7 separate regions of the Homo sapiens genome follow, and regions 1, 2, 3, 5, 6 and 7 are each linked to region 4. Evidence: promoter capture Hi-C in 16 types of primary human blood cells and fetal thymus (Javierre and others, 2016). All regions are on one chromosome and are shown on one strand. The core of a region is centred on a gene start or on the middle of the fragment in contact, and the rest is flanking DNA. Distances in the headings are between cores, read along the strand shown. Region 1 overlaps SIAH1 (siah E3 ubiquitin protein ligase 1). Region 2 overlaps N4BP1 (NEDD4 binding protein 1). Region 3 overlaps LOC105371240 (a long non-coding RNA gene). Region 4 holds the start of VPS35 (VPS35 retromer complex component). Region 5 has its middle 6.0 kb from the start of SIAH1. Region 6 overlaps N4BP1 (NEDD4 binding protein 1). Region 7 overlaps LONP2 (lon peptidase 2, peroxisomal).

Evidence for each region. The method cuts DNA at HindIII sites, captures the fragments that hold promoters and counts their contacts. A CHiCAGO score of 5 or more calls a contact.
Region 1: a contact is called between a fragment that was not itself captured here and the fragment with the promoter of VPS35 in region 4, in 1 of 17 cell types (fetal thymus). The highest score is 7.6, in fetal thymus.
Region 2: a fragment that was not itself captured here is called in contact with the fragment with the promoter of VPS35 in region 4 in 1 of 17 cell types (naive CD8 T cells); the score reaches 5.5 in naive CD8 T cells.
Region 3: a fragment that was not itself captured here is called in contact with the fragment with the promoter of VPS35 in region 4 in 4 of 17 cell types (naive CD4 T cells, naive CD8 T cells, activated CD4 T cells and 1 more); the score reaches 6.8 in naive CD4 T cells.
Region 5: a contact is called between a fragment that was not itself captured here and the fragment with the promoter of VPS35 in region 4, in 1 of 17 cell types (total CD8 T cells). The highest score is 5.4, in total CD8 T cells.
Region 6: a contact is called between a fragment that was not itself captured here and the fragment with the promoter of VPS35 in region 4, in 1 of 17 cell types (neutrophils). The highest score is 5.1, in neutrophils.
Region 7: a contact is called between a fragment that was not itself captured here and the fragment with the promoter of VPS35 in region 4, in 5 of 17 cell types (non-activated CD4 T cells, naive CD4 T cells, total CD8 T cells and 2 more). The highest score is 10.0, in non-activated CD4 T cells.

The regions. Positions count from the first base shown.
Region 1 is chr16:48,367,393-48,370,112 of GRCh38, forward strand. All of the region lies in intron 1 of SIAH1 (siah E3 ubiquitin protein ligase 1), which reads right to left. Among named protein-coding and RNA genes, the nearest start is that of SIAH1, 17 kb to the right of the region's middle. The HindIII fragment of the contact is 6,116 bases long and covers 1-2,720 here.
Region 2 is chr16:48,598,355-48,601,054 of GRCh38, forward strand. The region is part of intron 1 of N4BP1 (NEDD4 binding protein 1); the gene reads right to left. It also overlaps the pseudogene LOC105371239. Among named protein-coding and RNA genes, the nearest start is that of N4BP1, 10 kb to the right of the region's middle. The HindIII fragment of the contact is 1,017 bases long and covers 752-1,768 here.
Region 3 is chr16:48,632,035-48,634,734 of GRCh38, forward strand. All of the region lies in intron 1 of LOC105371240 (a long non-coding RNA gene), which reads left to right. Among named protein-coding and RNA genes, the nearest start is that of N4BP1, 23 kb to the left of the region's middle. The HindIII fragment of the contact is 5,727 bases long and covers 1-2,700 here.
Region 4 is chr16:46,687,808-46,690,507 of GRCh38, forward strand. VPS35 (VPS35 retromer complex component) reads right to left here and starts at 1,371. Exons shown (of 17, transcript NM_018206.6): 1 at 1,324-1,371. The coding sequence starts at 1,326. ORC6 (origin recognition complex subunit 6) reads left to right here and starts at 1,852. Exons shown (of 7, transcript NM_014321.4): 1 at 1,852-1,963. The coding sequence starts at 1,899. RefSeq lists enhancers at 842-1,539, 1,540-2,238, 2,476-2,555, 2,606-2,675 and silencers at 1,076-1,125, 1,276-1,515, 1,836-2,135. The HindIII fragment of the contact is 9,040 bases long and covers 1-2,700 here.
Region 5 is chr16:48,390,046-48,392,745 of GRCh38, forward strand. No RefSeq gene overlaps it. Among named protein-coding and RNA genes, the nearest start is that of SIAH1, 6.0 kb to the left of the region's middle. The HindIII fragment of the contact is 5,448 bases long and covers 1-2,700 here.
Region 6 is chr16:48,559,537-48,562,236 of GRCh38, forward strand. It overlaps N4BP1 (NEDD4 binding protein 1), which reads right to left. Exons shown (of 7, transcript NM_153029.4): 2 at 1,218-2,700. Among named protein-coding and RNA genes, the nearest start is that of N4BP1, 49 kb to the right of the region's middle. The HindIII fragment of the contact is 2,732 bases long and covers 71-2,700 here.
Region 7 is chr16:48,320,093-48,322,792 of GRCh38, forward strand. All of the region lies in intron 11 of LONP2 (lon peptidase 2, peroxisomal), which reads left to right. Among named protein-coding and RNA genes, the nearest start is that of SIAH1, 64 kb to the right of the region's middle. The HindIII fragment of the contact is 1,402 bases long and covers 711-2,112 here.

The DNA of each region.
Region 1 (2,720 bases), core at 161-2,660, 1.7 Mb after region 4:
GATCTATGGACAGGCCCCTCTACTTAATTAAGTCAGAAAAGTGGAAGCATTCTAGAGTCATCTACACTTGGATTCAGACCCCGGCTCCACCAGTTGTTGAGCTGTAAAACTGGACTGTTTCCAGCCTCAACTGGCTTTTGTCTAGATTGAGATGGGTAATTTATGTGTATCATGGATGGTACATATTCCAGAATATTTAAGTTTTCAGCTGAGACCTGATTTAATTGCCAAGTCATCAATTAGTCACAGACTCAGAATTTGTAGATTCCAAGAAACACACTCCAAAAGATGCCTTAACCTTGCAAAGGTGATCAAACATGTCTGCCAAGAATCAACCACCATTTAATTTTTAGCACAATAAACCTTAATTCTCAACTAGGTAGAATATTTACACTAGTTTTACAAAAAGCTGAAAAGTTCACAGAAGTACCTTAAGACAAGCCCATAGAATCCAAAACTGGCAAAAATCCAAAACTTAGCAAGAATGCACTATTACCTACACTTTCTAAAGCCTACGTCCCAAGCCCAGTTTGGTATATAGTTTAAGTAGATGTCAATCTAAACAAAAACATTTTAGAATCAGCCTTTAATGTTGTCTTAGTAATTTCAGAGCATTCAGCCATTGCTTTACCACCTTAGCATACTTAACAGTAGAAAGATAAACTTTTATTCTCAATTCCACGTGGTAATCTTTGTTTCCTTTTATAAATTACTTATAAAAGTTTAAAATGGAGAAATGTAGTCAGATATGGAAAAAAATCATAATATATTGTAAATGAAGTTACAAATAGAACACAGACGTGAGGGACGGGGTGAGAAACCAAGAGGGCTACAACATCAGACCAATGAATCAGTTACCTATATGAGGATACTGGTGATTTTTAGCTGTATTTTCTCCAAAGGGGACAATAAACTGCTTTATAAAGATTAGTCTGATTAACAACTGTGAAAACAGTCAAAATGAGCAAAAAGTAAAACATGTTTATTCTTAATTTAGTAAAAAACAACAACAACAAAAAACAGCTGGGCGTGGTGGCTCACGCCTGTAATCACAGCACTTTGGGAGGCCAAGGCAGGTGGATCACCTGAGGTCAGGAGTTCAAGACCATCCTGGCCAACATGGTGATACTTTGTCTCTACTAAGTAAATACAAAAATTAGCCGGGCATGGTGGCGTGTGCCTGTAATCCCAGCTACTTGGGAGGCTGAGGCAGAAGAATCACTTGAACCTGGGAGGCGGAGGCTGCAGTGAGCCAAGATCGACTTGAACCCAGGAGGCGGAGGCTGCAGTGAGCCAAGATCGTGCCACTGCATGCACTCCAGCCTGGGCGACAGAGCAAGATTCCATCTCAAAAAAAAAAGAAAGGGTAGGATGCAATTATCACTACCCCATCTCTAGTAAAACAAAAATTATTCTTAGAAACAATAAAATATAAAATAAAATTATAGGTATCAGATTACAAATTTGCTCTTTCCATTAGAAATCTTAATTAAATAAAACTCCTCCATTCAAAACACTTAAGGCTTTTCTTGTTCCCAGAATGCCTTTAGGTTAAAAGGGTATTTTCCAAACTCATTTGACATTGTGGCAGGTATTATGTAGAAAATGTTTTACGTTAAAATGTTAATTAAACATTGCTTCTATTTGAAGACTTACTTGCTTCTTACACAATGACAAAATCAAAGCAAGTCTCTTAAAAATTCAACAAGTTAAAATGCCAAAAGTTAAAAAATCAAACACTGTTATAAGGACAATAAATTAAACAATCTATAGCTTCCAGAACTGTAGCAAAGCAATAAAATGATTTCTTAAAAATTGTATGTTTTTCCTAAAACCTCCATTTTTCCTGAAGATAATTCTGAAAACTTTGCAGCTACAGAAGAAGTTACACTGAATAGGTATAGAAAGATTGATTACTGGAGATGAGGGAAACCCAGGAAAGCTGCTGTCAACAGAAGACAAAGAGGAAAGGCAAATCCCGACTTAAATGTGTTCAAAGCAAAATACAACACTTGCTAAGTCACTTTATTTTGAGGCTTCCACCCAAGCTAAACATTAGATATACATGGAGTTTGGTGGCTCATACCTGTAATCCCAGCACTTTGGGAGGCTGAGGTGGGAGGATCACTTGAGCCCAAGAGTTTGAGACAAGCCTAGGCAATATACTGAGACCTCATCTCCACAAAAAAAATACAAAAAAATTAGCTGGGTGTGGTGGCATCCGCTGTAGAGCCAGCTATTTGGGAGGCTGAGGTGGGAGGCTCATCTGAGCCTGGGATGTAAAGGCTGCAATGAGCTATGTCTGTGCAACAGAGTGAGACCCTGTCTGGGAAAGAATAAATAAAGTGTAAGATCCCCCTAAAACAATGCAAGCCCTTCAACATGCCAATAGTAAAACTTTCCCTTTCCCACTAGGCACAATAAAGATTGTACTAAGCTCCTAACTTTGTCAAAGCAATTAATCAAACCTAACTACACCTGAATCCTTAATTTTGTGGTGTGATCACAATACTTCAAAGAAAGTTTCTGAAAGGATTACGTAAGTGATTAACTCTCCATCTTAGTCTAAGTCTGAAGCTCTTGCATAAATTCCACAGCTTACAATCCTGGTCACAACTCTCTTCTCTAAGAACTAAGTAAGCTATGCCCACTGTCTTCTGCTATTCAATGATGTAAGTGAAAGAAAAGCCTAATGCCATTTTCATTCTCAACCCTTTGCA
Region 2 (2,700 bases), core at 10-2,509, 1.9 Mb after region 4:
AATGGCAAAAGGCAGGGAGGAGAGTCAAAGGACTCCTTCCAGGAAAATTTTTAAGGGATCATTAATAAGGTGAGTAAAAAAATCATTGATAGGGGTGATACAAAAAAGGAAAAGAAGGTGGAGAGTCACAGGACTCCTCTCAGCAGGGTGGTTATTAAGATACGGCATGAATAAAATGAAATTAATGAGACTAAAAGATTTTAATACAACACCACTGAAAAATAAGGTATGTCTAAGGGATCCCCTCTTGGTCCCTCAATTTGCCCCACATTGGAGAAATTTAAAGTCAGAAGGCAAAGATTACAATGAGAAATCTGACCTGAAATTGCCTAGGGAGATTAATCAAGGCAAAATTGATAAAGCACAAGTGTCCCTTTGCTTACCCTCTGGCTGGGGACTCAGAGCCTCTGTACACAAGTGGGTAAAACCTTCTGGGGTGGTGAAGATAAATCCCTGAAACTCCTTGATATAGGAGTCCTATGATCCATTGGCAAAGAAAGCCCCGACTAGGGCTACTAGATTGGGAGAATATGAAAAGGTAAGGGTTGACAGGATTATATAAACTGGAATGGTAATAAACACACTTTAAGTTAAAAAGTTGTATCTCCTTTACTTGAATGTTTTATGGAAATGGATGTTATGTCTGGTAGGGAAACACTTCCCCTACCTAGTACTGTAAAACCAAAACCGGTTCATAAAGTCCTAACAGAGGCTAAAGTTAGGAAAGTAAGGTTGATGGAATTAGGGTACAAGCTTGGAGAACTGGTATATCTGAGTCGTATACTGGTATAATAACTATAATTTTTTCTTTCTTTCCAGTAACACCTCGATTCCCACTGCCCCCGCCCCTCATCCCCATCTGATACAGTGGTCACAGGACCAGGGCTGCAACTACAGTTGCACTAAGCAGGGATGATTCCTAAGCAAGTTAACTGCAACTGTTTTTAAACCCTATGTCAGAATTCCTAAGGAGCTAATGGGGGCATGGTTGTTCTTTCACAAATTCTGGCAAAATAGAGGGTAAGAGGAAAACTCCCACACATCTTGTGTTAGAAGCATGTTAGAGTCCACATAAGCAGGAGAAACTGTGTCAGTTATTCCTACATTCTCACAAGGACATTCACCAGTTTTGTACCCAAATCTAGCAATCTTATTCTAACACTGTTTTTTCAGCACCTGTACTCATTTCCTCCAATGCTCCTTGAACCAGTTTTCCAATCCAGCTGGTTCCCTCACAAATGAGTTAAATGAATGCTTGCTATATGCTCACTTTTTAGGAATTATAATTTTTAAAACACATGGAAAATAATGTAATCCATATTTTGTTTAGGGTAGCGATGTGCCTAGGTAAAACTGAACATTTCATAGCTTGCTTTACTACTAGTGGTCACATGATATAGTTCTAGCCAATTAGAGGTAAGCAGAAACCTGCTAGGGTTTTCTGGAAAACTGTTACCTCTTCTTCCATCCTTCCTTCTTAAAGGCCTGATGGCTGGAGCTGCAGTGGTCATTTTGTGACCATAAGGGTACAGTTTGTAATCATTACTCACCCTTGGACTGCTGCTTATCTTTTGACTTTTTAAATGAAAGAAAACCCTTATTTTGTATAGGTTTCTATTATTGCAGGCAAATTCATTACCTAATAGAGATACATCAACCTTCATTAACCTACCTATTATAACAAAGTAACAATTTCATTTTCTTAATTTAAAAAATACCAGGGTCAAGAATGAAACATACTGTGAATTAAATATGCTGATTCTTCTCAAGCTTGGCATTTGGTTGGTGGTGACCCATGCAGGTTTAACATGTGTACTGTGAAGTGTTATTTCTGTTTGGGCCCATCTACCCTGGCCACGGCATGATGTTCATCCGCAACGACTGAAAGGTGTTCAGATTTTGTAAATCTAAATGTCATAAAAACTTTAAAAAGAAGCACAATCCTTGCAAAGTTAGGTGGACCAAAGCATTCCGGAAAGCAGGTGGCAAAGAGCTTACACTGGATAATTCATTTGAATATGAAAAACATAGAAATGAAACCATCAAATACCAGTGAGAGCTATGGAATAAAACTACTGAAGCAATGAAGACAGTTGAAGAGATCAAACAGAAACGCCAAGCTAAATTTATAATGAACAGATTGAAGAAAAATAAGAGCTACAGAAAGTTCAGGATATCAAACAGGTCAAGCAAAACATCCATCTTATCTGAGTTCCTCTTGCAGGCAAAGGGAAGCAGTTGGAAGAGAAAACAGTACAGCAGTTACAAGAGAATGTGGACATGGAAGATGCTTCTTAAAAATCTCTGTAACCATTTCTTTTATGTACATTTGAAAATGCCCTTTGGAGACTTGGAACTGCTAAATTATTTTTTACATAAGGTCACTTAAATGAAAAGTGATTAAAATATATCTTTCCTACACTGCCATCTACAAAACATCAGATATTACAGATGTTAGATTGCATCTCAGTGTTAAATCTTCACTGATAGATATGTAAATCACGAAAATTCTACTTATAACTATAGAAGTGAATTGTGGATGTAAAATGGTTATGCCAATTGGATAATGGCACTAGGTGGCATTTGTATAATAAGTAATGGCAAAAAATCATGGCTAGTGATATATAAAATAAAATATTATTTGCAGCCAAATATTCCCTTTATTAATGTTATGGAAAGGGGGATACAACAAGGAACTAA
Region 3 (2,700 bases), core at 132-2,631, 1.9 Mb after region 4:
CACTGGGGACTCCTAGAGGGTAGAGGAAGAGAGCTGCAGGGGTTGGAAAACTACTTATTGGGTCCTATGCTTGTGACAGAATCAATCGTACCTTAAACTTCGGCATCATGCAATATACCCATGTAACAAACCTGCATGTATATCCTCTGCATCTAAAACAAAAGTTGAAATTAAAAAAGAAAAGAAGAGACGTGGCTGGGCAAGGTGGGTCACACCCATAATCCCAGTACTTTGGGTGGGCACCTGTAATCTCAGCTACTCAGGAGGCTGAGGCAGGAGAATCGCTGGAACCTGGGAGGTGGAGGTTGTAGTGATCTGAGATCACGCCACTGCATTCCAGCCTGAGGAACAAGAGTGAAACTCCATCTCAAAAAAAAAAAAAAAAAAGAAGAGACGTGGTTGTGCTAGGTTAATAATAAACCCTAAACTCTCAGCAGTTCAAAAGAACAGAGTGTCTTTCTCACCCCATGCTGTGTGTCCACTGCAGGTCCACCAGGGGCTCTGCTTGTCTTAGTCACTCAGGGGCCTTGTGTGACAGAGACTCCATCTCAACAAGTGCTTCTGTGACCCAGCAGGCAGTAAAAAGAGGATGGAGACCACAGACTGACCTGTCTGCTTCTGCCTAAAAGTGACACATGTCATTTTCACTCATACTTCATGGGCCAAAGCAGATCACATGGCCGTGCACGAGCTCAAGTGGGTGGAGAGGTGCAGCCCCACCATGTGCCCAGAAAGAGAGCTGAGCATTTGAGACCTTTCTTTCTTCTTTTCTGCTTTCCCTCTTCCCTTCTTCCTGCTTTCCTTCCCTTCTTATTTACTAAGTGCCTACTATTTAGATGATGTATCCTCACTGGGATTATCATTTGTTATTTAAAAAATTTAAATAATAAATTTAATTTGTTTTGTTATTTATTATTTACTTTTTTTTTTTTTCTGAGATGGGGTCTTGCTCTGTCACCCAAGCCAGAGTGCAGTGGCACGATCTCAGCTCACTGCAACCTCCGCCTCCCAGGTCCAAGCGATTCTCCAGCCTCAGCCTCCTGAGTAGCTGGGGTTACAGGCATGCGCCACCGTGCCAAGCTAATTTTTGTATTTTCAGTAGAGATGGGGTTTTGCCATGCTGGCCAAGCTGGTCTCAAACTCCTGAGCTCAGGTGATCCACCCACCTTGGCCTCCCAAAGTCCTGGGATTACCGATGTGAACCACTGTGCCTGGCCTGTTTTTATTTTCTAAAGATGGGGTCTTGCTCTGTTGCCCAACCTAGAGTGTAGTGGCTATTCACAGATATTATCATAGCTCACTGCATAGCTCACTGCAGAACCTGGGTTTACTGATGCACACCACTGCACCCAGCCTCACTGGGATTATAAAATAAGACAAAACTCCGTCCTCAAGGCTCACATGATCTCATGGCCGAGTCAGAAAAGCCGACCAAGATCAGCACAAGTTGATATGTGAACACAGATATGAGGCAGCTCACCCAGCCTGGTGTGAAGCTAAGGAAGGCTTCCTGGAGGACGTCCCCAAGGAAGGTAGGAACAAGCCTGATGAGAGGCAGGGGAACCTGAATAGCACAGCTCATGCCTGTAATCTTAGCTACCAAGAAGGCAGAGGCGGGAGGATATCTGGAATCCAGGTGTTCAAGACCAGCCCAGGCAACATAGCAAGACTCTTAAAAAAAAAAGACGCAGGGAGATCATTTTCAGCAGAAAGAGCAGAAGATGAAAATGTCTGCAGGAGAGCTCTGTGGCCAGCAGTAAGATGTTCTGCAGGCCTGAGGAATGTTGTGGGGGATGGTGTGAGGATGAGCAGGCACAGCAGGAAGTGGGTCCAGACCACTTAAGGCTTCAGGACCACTGGAGACTGGATTTCCTGAGAAGGCCATGGGGGCCATAGAGAGGCTGGTTAAATTTATTTTATTTTTTCCAATTTAGCCTTGACTTGAAACTCATAAATTTGTTTTCTCTGAGACAGGGTCTCACTATGTTGCCCAGGCTGAACTCAAACTCCTGGGCTTGAGCCATCCTCCTGCCTCAGTCTCCCGGGGTACTACAGGTGTAAGCCACCATGCCCGCCTGCCATAGAAAGGTTTTAAGCAGGACATTAACACTGTGAGGTCCTCTCTCTGTAGGGTGGGTTGGAGGGGAAAGGATTGAGAACAGAGAGACAGCACTTTGAGAGGCTGAGGCAGGTGGATCGCTTGAGGTCAGAAGTTCAAGAACAGCCTGGCCAACATGGTGAGATCCCGTCTCTACTAAAAATACAAAAATTAGCTGGGCGTGGTGGTGTGTGCCTGTAATCCCAGCTATTCAGGAGGCTGAGGCAGGAGAATTACTTGAACCTGGGAGGCGGAGGTTGCAGTGAGCCGAGATGGCACCACTGCATTCCAGCCTGTGCAACAAGAGTGAAACTCCATCTCAAAAAAAAAAAAAAAAAAAAGAAAGGAAAGATAGGATGCTGATGTCATAGCTAGAGGGAGATGACAGAGCCTCAAATGCAGGCAATGTTTGGGGACATAGAGAGGATAAAATTGATCAGAGAGGTGATATGCAGAGGCAGCCTATAGGACTTGGTTTTTATGGAAAGTGGGAGTAACGCTGAACCTTAAGAATGTCTGGGTTTCAAATGGCATGGAATGGCTGAGGTGTATTATTCATTCAGGATACTTATTAATGTCTATCATGGGTTCTTTCTGGGTGC
Region 4 (2,700 bases), core at 121-2,620:
CTAAATTATAGACAGTGACTGTGAAAGAACGAATACTCAAGTTTCCTTTCCCAATAAAATTCATGAGGACAAGACTGTGTGTCTGGCTGATTGCTCCCAACTGGTTCACCCAACAAAGAATCGGAGTGTGTAATACATCCTCAATTAAGTGTTTTCCATTACAAAACAATATAAATGTCAATCCATAAACGCTGGAAACACACAAATCCTAAAGTTAAATTTTGCGCCGGTCTTGTATCAATTCCCAATTATAAAAATCCTGAGAAACAGGCAAAATCACCTTGTACGGCAACACGTTATATGAAAATAGTATTTGTAAAACACTTAATCCTTTCTGGCATTAAGACATTTAAAGTGAAATCTGTTTCCAGGCTTACAGATTTACAGAAGCCTATCTACACAGAGTGAGTAAGGTAATTAAAGCGGACATACAGTATATACTCAAAAAATTTATTTACACAGTGCAGGCTATGTTAAACGCTAATAAAATGCAAGTGACAACTTGCCTTTGTGGGAACCAGACACAAAGATTCACATTTTGAGGAAGTTCAAGTTTACCGGCCAACAGCCACACCACGATTTGCTGCCGTCATAGACGGGCCCTAAGGAGAAGTACTGCTTCCAGCAAGTCAAATACTTGGATTTTATCAATGGCGAGACAAAAGAGGCAAGGTGCGCCCAATGCACAAATGCTAAAGTAAACAATCAGTCTCCTTTGCGACCGTCAGGATTAGAAGACAGCCTGAGTCCTTCCAGGAAATTCATGTAAGCAGGTCCCCAGAACTCGCTGACAAACACTGCAGCCGAAGGCGGGTATGAGGCCAAGAAAGGCCAAGGAATCACTGCGACCCCTCCAGGAGGGCGTGGGGACGGCCGAGCACAACTAGGCACAAAGGTAGAAACGCAACATCTGGGCGGGTCCCGGCGCCACCTCCGAGTCTCAGGGCCTCCACGCGCCCCGGGGGCCAGACGCTCAGACCTAGGACTACCGGTCCCCTCGTGGTAGGCAGGTGACCGATTCCACTTAAAGGAGGCCGCAGGCCTTCATGGACCCCAAAGCCTACATGCCAAGTCAACCCCACAGAGAGGCCGCCCCGTCTCTCAGCAACGGCCGCAGCCAAGAGCCGCCGCCCACCCCGGCCCGGATCAGCCTGCCCGCGGCCTTCCTCCTGCTGTCCCCTATCCCGCAGGCCAAATCGGGCTGGTCTTAATCCCGAACGGTCTGTGGGGCCCCTTCTCCACTCGCTGGAGTGCGGGGCGGTGGGAGAGAGCAGGGGCTACAAGGAGGGTCGACCCAGGTGCCACTGCCCCCTCAGCACTCACCATGGCGACTCCCCAGAGCCTGCAGCAAGCAGCACCCGCCCCGCGCGTAGCCTCCCGCGGTCATGTGACGCTGCGGCCCCTCCAAGCCCCGCCCTCTCTAGCCCCGCCCCCGGGCCCTACAGGCGGCTCATTGATTGGCCTACTTCTAGGAACCCGAGTCTCGCGTGCTTATTGGCCCTGTCACTTAACGCTAGATGGACGGACCTGAGCGCCAGCCAATCTCACCACAGCGTGCGAGAGTGGGCGGAGCAGTGCAGGGCAGTGGGGATCGCCCGGCGGCAGGCAGGAGACAACAGGAGGGAAAGGCAGTGTGTGATGAGTTTGTCAAGAAGGAATGGAAGGAGGGGGAGCCGACAAGTCCACGTTCACCGCATCTGCGTTGGCGATTGCGCTATTGATGCGCATGCGCAAAAGGAAGACCCTGATTGGTTTGTGGGACGGTCTCAACGTCCTGTCCTAACCAATCCAGATGCGCCGGGGGTGGGGCCTGGCTCTCACTGGCCGGTGCAGCCTTTGCGCGCGGGTTTCGTTGACCCGCGGCGTTCACGGGAATTGTTCGCTTTAGTGCCGGCGCCATGGGGTCGGAGCTGATCGGGCGCCTAGCCCCGCGCCTGGGCCTCGCCGAGCCCGACATGCTGAGGTGAGTTCGGCCGCGCAAGACCAGGGCTGGGCTTCCGCCTCGCGGCCCTGGGCCCTCAGGTGAGGCCCGCGCCCTTCCCAGGCGACGGGCGGCGGGGGAGTGACGGGGAGCGCTGGGGCCGGGCGGGGTTTAGGGCCTACTTCAAGAAAAACTTCTCGGCCGTGAGCTTGAATGAGATGGCAAGAAGGGCGATAGCAAACGGCGATGGCACACGTCCCTGGGAACAGCCAGCCCTGTCCGTGGGTAGAAAAATGAGCCAGGGAGAACTTTCCGTTCATTCCGCCAACGCCTACTGCAGTCGGGTTTATAGCGGGGAACCCGACAACGAGGCGCAGACCCCGCTGTCTGTAAGGGCGAGGACTGTGTAGACCTTAACCGGGCAATGCTCCTGAGCCACTGGGCTTGGGGTGGAGCGCGGCCTAGCGGCTGCCTTTAACACAAAGAAACAAACAAAACTCGGAAAAGCAGGCGCCGTTCCCGCTGAGGCCGGATTGATGGCAGATGCTAGGCGAGGAAAGATATGGCAAGAGCAGCCCAGGCAGGGGCGACAGCTCCTGTAAAAGCGTTGAGATGGGAAGCGGGATCCGGGGTTCGAAATAAAGCCATTGTAGCTAAAACGTGGAGCAGTCAGGCGAGGGAAGGCAAGGAAAACAGCACTTAAAAGATTTGAAGACAAACCTGCAGGACTCGGTAGTCATTTAGAACAGTGGTTCTCAAAATGTGGTTCCTGGACCAGC
Region 5 (2,700 bases), core at 12-2,511, 1.7 Mb after region 4:
AAATGCTTAACACACGCACAAGTTCATGGGTTACTTAATTTTTTTTTTTTTTGAGACGGAGTCTCGCTCTGTCACCTAGGCTGGAGTGCAGTGGCGTGATCTCGGCTCACTGCAAGCTCCGCCTCCCGGGTTCACGCCATTCTCCTGCCTCAGTCTCCCGAGGAGCTGGGACTACAGGCGCCCGCCACCACGCCTGGCTAATTTTTTGTATTTTTAGTAGAGATGGGGTTTCACTGTGTTAGCCAGGATGGTCTCGATCTCTTGACCTCGTGATCTGCCCGCCTCTGCCTCCCAAAGTGCTGGGATTACAGGTGTGAACCACCGTGCCAGGCGGGTTACTTAATTTAATACTAACAAATATATGAAGTGAGCACTGCTTTCCCATTTTACAGATGAGGAAATGGAAACTCAGAAAGGATAAAGAACTTTCCCATGGCATGTACTAATAAGTGGAGGTGTGGAAGTTAACATCCAGGTCCGTCTGGCCCCAGAGCCTTTGCTCCTTCCTCATTCATCGTGTCTTACAGCTGAGGAGAAACATGATCTGTGATTCATATTCATCCAGGAGGGCTTACACATGAATCTGCAGGGCCCTCAAGTCCTTTATGAGAATTTGTCAATTCAGGGTTTTCATTTTAATGAATTTTAGAAGGATGAATTAAAGTATATTTTACATTATCTAAACAACTACCTGCAATTCACTATGTTAATGAAAAAATGGCCAGGTGCGGTGGCTCATGCCTGTAATCCCAGCACTTTGGGAGGCTGAGGCAGGTGGATCACCTGAGGTGAGGAGTTCGAGACCAGCCTGGCCAACATGGCGAAACCCCATCTCTACTAAAAATACAAAAATTAGCCAGGTGTGGTGGTGGCAGGCATCTGTAATCCCAGCTACTTGGGAGGCTGAGGCAGGAGAATCGCTTGAATCCAGGGGGCGGAGGTTGCAGTGAGCCGAGATCGTGCCACTTTACTCCAGCCTGGGCGAAAGAGCGAAACTCCATCTCAAAAAACACATGCACACAAAAGTTATAACACTTAGGGTACAGTGGTGACCGCTAGACGCATTAAAGCTGCAATGGTTAAAGGGGTTATTTCTGGCAAAAAGTACTAGGAAAGGGGAACTAGGTGGAGTTGGGGTAGAGAAAAGGGAGAATTTTTTTTTTTTTTTTGAGACAGGGTCTTGCCCCATCACCCAGGCTGGAGTGCGGTGGTGCGATCAGAGCTCACTGCTGCATCGACCTCCTGGGCTCAAGCGATCCTCCTGCCTCAGCTTTCAAAATAGCCACCACACCCAGGTAATTTTTGCATTTTTTGTAGAGACGGGGTTTCACCATATTGCCCAGGCTGGTCTCAAACTCCTAGGCTCAAGCAATCCACCCACCTAGGCCTCCCTAAATGCTGGGATTACAGGCACGAGCCACCGCGGCCAGTCTAAAGTCTATGTGATATTTGAATGAGAAAGCAGGCTCAAGGCTGGGCAAGGCGGCTCACGCCTGTAAACCCAGGACTTTGGGAGGCCTAGGTGGGTGGATCACTTGAGGTCAGGAGAAACCCTGTCTCTACTAAAAATACAACAATAACAAAAAAAATTTAGCTGGGCGTGGTGGCACACTTCTGTAGTCTCAGCTACTTGGAAGGCTGAGGCAGGAGAATCGCTTGAACCTGGGAGGTGGAGAGGTTGCTGACCTGAGATTGCACCACTGCACTCCAGACTGGTTGACAAAGCAAGACTTGGTCTTAAAAAGAAAAAAAAATGCCTGGCTGGGCACGGTGGCTCATGCCTGTAATCCCAGCACTTTGGGAGACGGAGGCGGGTGGATCACCTGAGGTCGAGAGTTTGAGACCAGCCTGACAAACATGGAGAAACCCCATCTCTACTAAAACTACAAAATTAGCCAGGCATGGTGGTGCATGCCTGTAATCCCAGCTACTCGGGAGGCTGAGACAGGAGAATTGCTTGTACCTGGGAGGTGGAGGTTTCAGTGAGCCAAGATCGTGCCACTGCACTCCAGCCTGGGCAACAAGAGGGAGACTCCATCTCAAAAAAAAAAAAAAGTCTACAACCTAATCCCCAGAACCTGTGAATAAATTACTTTATGTGGCAAAAAGGACTTAGCATATGTGATTGAGTTAAGGATTTTGAGATGAAGACATTATCCTGGACTATCCCATGGGCCAAGAGATAGAAGACGTGATAACAAGAGGTCTGAGCCAGGCTCAGTGGCTCACACCTGTAATCCCTTTGGAGGCCAAGGCAGGAGAAGCACTTGAGCCCAGGAGTTTGAGACCAGTCTGGGCAACATAGCAAGACTCTATCTCAACAAACAACAACAACAAAAGCAGAGGTCAGAGAGACCCAGAAAGGGGCCATGAGCCATGGAATGCAGGAGGCCTCTAGAAAACTGAAAAGGCAAGGAAACAGATTCTTTCCCTGGAGTATCCACATGGGGTCAGCCCGGCCGACACCTTGATGTTAGCCCCATAAGACTAATTTTAGACTTCTGACCTCTGGAACTGTAATATAATACATCTATGTTGTGGCAACCCACTAAGTTTGCAGTAATTTGTTAAAGCAGCGATAGGAAACTAGTACAGACACAAAACAAAGTGTAAATCCTCAGTCAATGTAGAGTGAAAGAGAGGTGAGGGGCAGCTGCGGACAGCACCCTTCCAAATGTCACCGAATATCTGCAAACAAAG
Region 6 (2,700 bases), core at 187-2,686, 1.9 Mb after region 4:
TGAACAAATGGCAACCTAAGAGTATTCTTGTAAAAAAAAATGGCTGAGTCTCAGCCAATCACAGCAGCCAAGCTTCAGCCAATCACAGGCTGCCAATTGTTCAGACCACTTCTACATAAGGCAAATGCCTCATCACAGGATGCCTGGATAAGGCAAATGCCAACCCGTAGGTAATCAAGCTGTTTCTGCAGGGCAATTCCCTTTTCTGCCTATAAATACTGCCAGCCCTCATTGCTGGGTGAAGCTCTCTGAACCTCTCCTGGTTCAGGGTGCTGCCAGATTCGTAAATCATTGTTCGTGCAGATCAACTCTGCTAAATGTAATTTGCCCTAAGTTTTTCTTTTAACAATGGGGTGACTGGTTTTGAAAACTGAAGGCAGACTTTACATAGTTGTTGAAATGATATGGTAAAGATGTCCTTAAGGACAGGTCAGAAGGCAACAGATTGCAGCAACTGAAACTCCGAACAGTTAAGTGACCTGCCCCAAATCAAACAGCTGGTCCACAGTGCAGGGAGGCTCTTGACCCTCACACTCTCCTTAGCCACGATCTTAAACTGCCCCTTAGAAAAAAAACCCAAGCGTACAGGTTTCAAATCAGAGGATTTTCAACTAAGAGGAGTTCCAAGACAGGCTAACTAGAAACAACAGGTTCATTAAATGATGTCTTTTACTAAAAACAAATATTATAAACTTTTAGTAAGAGCAGAGGCCCACAGTGAAGCTCAAAGTGACTACTTTTGAAAGGAAATTGCCATTGCTCTATCCACAGAAATACATCACACCTGTTACCACTGCACACTCTTGGCTAGAGATCAGGCATACTCCAGCATAATAAGATAAAAAAAAATCCTTTTGCTTTAAGCTGTGTTCTCTTATTTAGATTAGAACATAATGGTACTCACAATATTAAGAATTTAATGACTTAAAAGTCACTATACTACATATCACTGAGCAATGCAACGTGAAAAGATAATTTTCTATCCTCTCTTGCCCTTAGAAATTAAGTTCAGCAGGGTGAAGTAAAGTTCATGAATCCAGAAGATGGACTGACAAAACCTTTCCAACCAGTTGGTTCCCATTCCCCTCCACCATCCGACCCTAAGGCTACAGATCAACTATATACAACATGTATGTATAGTTCCCATATACATGTGATTCTGAGACACCATTTAGAGCCCTATTTAAAATAAAATAATCTGCAGAGAATGGACTTACGTAATTGCAACATTGCTCCCATCTATAACAATGTGTTTCAAATCCGTTCTCCCTGGTTCATTTTTTAATTCCAGCTTGTAGGGTATTTTTAGAGTATCTCGAAACCTTTGAACCCCAGTAACTGAGGAATCAATATGATCAGAAGGTCCTGCCGACCTTGCATCAGTAACCGAAGGTAACAGCTGGGGCAGTGGCATTGGTGGAGAAAGGGTTGAGCAATTTGGCTTAGAATGAGGAGAACTACAACATCCTAAACGTTTTTCACAGGCAGATTTCATATTATTTGGAAGCAAGGGTTCTGGCTGCTGGTGTAAACCATTTTCAGGAAAAAGTGGAACTCTGGGCTGGTGACTTGAAGCTCCCCTTGAAACAAAATTGACTTCTTTGGGACTTGGAGAGGCAACAGAAGGTGAAAGGCCATCAGTTTCAGGGTCTGTGTTACAAATGTAGTTCTGGTTTGAACCCCAGACTTCATGTTTCTGTTCTATTGGCACTGTTCTGAAAGTATTAATTCTACAATTTGAGGTACATGGTTTAGCTTCCACTTTGAATGGTAACTGAGAAAATTTTTCTACCATATTTTGCTGTGTGTGAGCCTGTGTTTTCTTTGGAGTGGAATCAGTTGTAAGCTCATTTGTGCTGCTATAAACACCTTTATTTTTGGTTTTGTTGGTCTCTGGATACACTGTACCAGCTGAAAATTCTCTGTCTTCTTGGAATCTTTTATTTTCTTTTTCAATTTCCTCTAAGAGCAATAATGGTTCAGTAGATGGTCCATACACCTTAATGACCTTTTCAACAATTTCTTGGGAGTAGCCCATGGTTTTAAAAAAGTTTACGAGGATGTTGTATTCCATTTCCTCAGTAGTTTCTTTTATATCTGGACTTAAATTTTCAGAATCAGCAGAAGAATCAGATAGGTCAGCTATTACATTTCCAGCCAATGTCTTAGCATCGTGTAAAATCTCCCCCTCCTGAACATTTTCCAAAGAAAACTGCTTCTTCGTATGCCTTTCTTCAGAATCAGAAAATCTCCTTTTCTGACAAATTCTCTCATTGGAAAGTGCCTCTTCATCTGGGGTTAGACCATTTATTGGATCAAAAAGCACATCTGGTGAGCTAGAAAGGACTGTGTCCATTTGTTTTGTAAGCTCAGAAACAGGAGTCCCAGCTTTATTTCTTGCCTCTTCCTGCAAAACAGTTTCATCTCTAGAAATATTCAGCCCTGTGGCAGCATTCTGTGTAAACTCTGTTTGTTGAGAATCTCTCATTTCAATAACCTCATCATCTCCTGTTTCAAAGAGATTCTCCTCACCTTGTGTGAGTGTCAAAAGTTCTTTTTTCAAGGAAGTGGGCAAAATCAACAAATCCATTGTGTAATTGTCTGCATGGGCTTCAACAAATTGTTTGAATTCCCTTTTCACCTCTGATTCTTTCTGACTACTGGGTAGGTTCTCTTTATTTTCAAAGAGCTTTACAAATT
Region 7 (2,700 bases), core at 162-2,661, 1.6 Mb after region 4:
GAGGTTGCAGTGAGCCGAGATCACGCCACTGCACTCTAGCCTGGGCAGCAGAGTAAGACTCTGTCTCAAAAAAAAAAAAAAAAAAAAGAATTTTTCTAAGCCCGCATTGAAGTTTATACTGTAGAATATCCATCAAACTTGAGCTGATTTCTTATCAAAGACCCAGGTTGCACAGATAGGGGTTAGAAGTTTGGATTCGGTTTTGCATTTTCAGTATTTAAAGTCTTGTTTCATCTTGTTCATTCTTACCTTTCCTTTGATTGTATTAGTAGCTCAGGACAAATAAGAATTTATAATTTTCCAAGGAACTAAGGTTGCTGTTGAGGAATATGGGTTTCAGAGACAAGAGTTTAGGCACTGGCTCATTGGTACTAAGCTTCAGGGGTTTGTAGTGTTGTTAGAGCTAATTGGATTTTACAAATAAGCCAAGATTATTAAAAAAAAAAAATAGATCTAGAGAGTAACACTTTCTGTGCTAAATCCATTGCATTTGATGGGATACTAGGCAGTATGCTATGTCCAAACTTCTAAAATCAGGCGGTGGTCTAACGTTGAGGTGAAAATATCATGTTGGTATATACTGCCAATATCATGAAGATATACTAAATATTATTTTCTGAGTCTGACATTTACACTGATTTACTGATTTATCCCTCATCAATATTGGCCTGGTTTAAGAGAGACTTGTTTGCCTGTACAGACCGGGAGGAAGCTTCAATGAAGGCAAAAATCTAACTATAATAGGAGCCAAACATTTGTTATTTGAATTCCAATTGGGGACAGGAAAATAAAATATTATCAAATAATTATAAAGTCATCATTCTGTTAAATGAATCATATAGGAAAATGCATTGACCTTAAAACAGAGTCTGGCTCTGTTACCCGGACTGGAGTGGAGTGGCCTGGTTTCAACTTGCTGCAACCTCCACCTCACGGGCTTAAGCTGTCCTCCCACCTCAGTCCCTAGAGTAGCTGGGACCACAGGTTTTGCCATGTTGCTCAGGCTGTTCTCAAACTCCTGAGCTCAAGAAATCCACCTGTCTCAGCCTCCTGAAGTGCTGGGATTACAGGCGTGAGCCACCGCGCCCGGCCTGCAGTGACCTTTGGTTGTCATTGTTATACATTATCAAAACAAACTCAAGTTACAAGAGTATTAAAGCAATACTTAATGGTTTTAAAAAAAATATTACAAAAGGTCTCTGCATTTTAACTACTCATCTAAATAATTGTCTAGGAATATTTTCTGAATCTCTAATACAGGAAATGAGATTTATTAATACATAAAACCCACTGAAAACAGGGGTGCAAACTTTCTTGTCTGGTACTAAAGATGGATTCCTATGTTTTGGGCCCTTGTTTATACCAGTTTATTCAATCAGTGAGTCAGCTAGCATTTACTGAATAGTCATATGCGTTGCTTAATGATGGGGATAATGTTCTGAGAAGTGCATCCCTGGGAAATTTTGTCATTGTGGAAACATCATAGAGTGTACTTACACAAACCTAGATGGTATAGCTTTCTACACACCTAGGCTATATGGTATAGCCTGTTAATCCTAGGCTATAAACTTCTACAGCATGTGACTATACTGAATACTGTAGGCAATTATAACAGAGTGGTATTTGTATATCTAAACAACAGATGAACAATAAAGAAAAAATAAACAACAAATAAAAGCTGGTACTTCTGTATAAAGGCACTTACCATGAATGGAGTTGCAGGACTGGAAGTAGCTCTGCGTGAGTCAGCAAGTGAGTGGGAGTGAATGTGAAAGCCTAGGACATTACTGTGTATATACTACTATAGACTTATTAACACTGTACACTTAGCCTGTATTTTTTAATTTTTTTCTTTTTTTTTTTTTACTTCTTTTTCTTTTTTTGAGACAGGCTGTGTTGCTCAGGCTGGTCTTGAACTCTTGGGCTCAAGTGATCCTTCTACCTCATCCTCCTAAGTAGCTGGGATTACAGGTGTGTGCCACCACACCCAGCTTTTTAAAACTTTTCAAATCTTTTATAATAACACTCAGCTTAAAACACAAATACACTGTATAGCTATACAAAAAATATTTTTACCCCATTTATGCCTAGTGCTCCATTATTGGAACACTAAGCTTGTGGGAGTTATTTATATCCTACTGCTCAAGGTCATTGCCAAGGTCTGATTTTTCACAAAAAAAAATTCACAACTTCTGGCATAAATGGGTTAATATCCTTACTGTATATAAGCTTTTTTAAAAATTGTTTTACTTTTTAAACTTCTTTGTTAAAAGCAAAGACACAGACACACATTAGCCCAGTCCTGAACTAGGTCAGGATCTTCAGTTTCACTGTCTTCCACTTCCACATCTTGGCCCACTGGAAGGTCTTCAGAGGCAGTAACATGCATGGATAACAGTGCCTTCTACCTTCTGAAGGACCTGCCTGAGGCTGTTTTACAGTTAACTTCTTTTTTACAGAAGGGAGTACACTCTAAAATAATGATGAAAAGCATAGTATAGTCCAGGCACGATAGTGTGTGCCTGTAGTCCCAGCTACTCAGGAGGCTGAGGCAGGAAGATTGCTTGAACCCATGAGTTCAAGACCAGTCTGGGCAACATAGCGAGACTCCACCTCTAAAAATATATATAAGAATAAAAAATTTTTTTTAAATGAAGCATAGTAAGTACATAAACCAATAACATAGTCACTCACTATGAC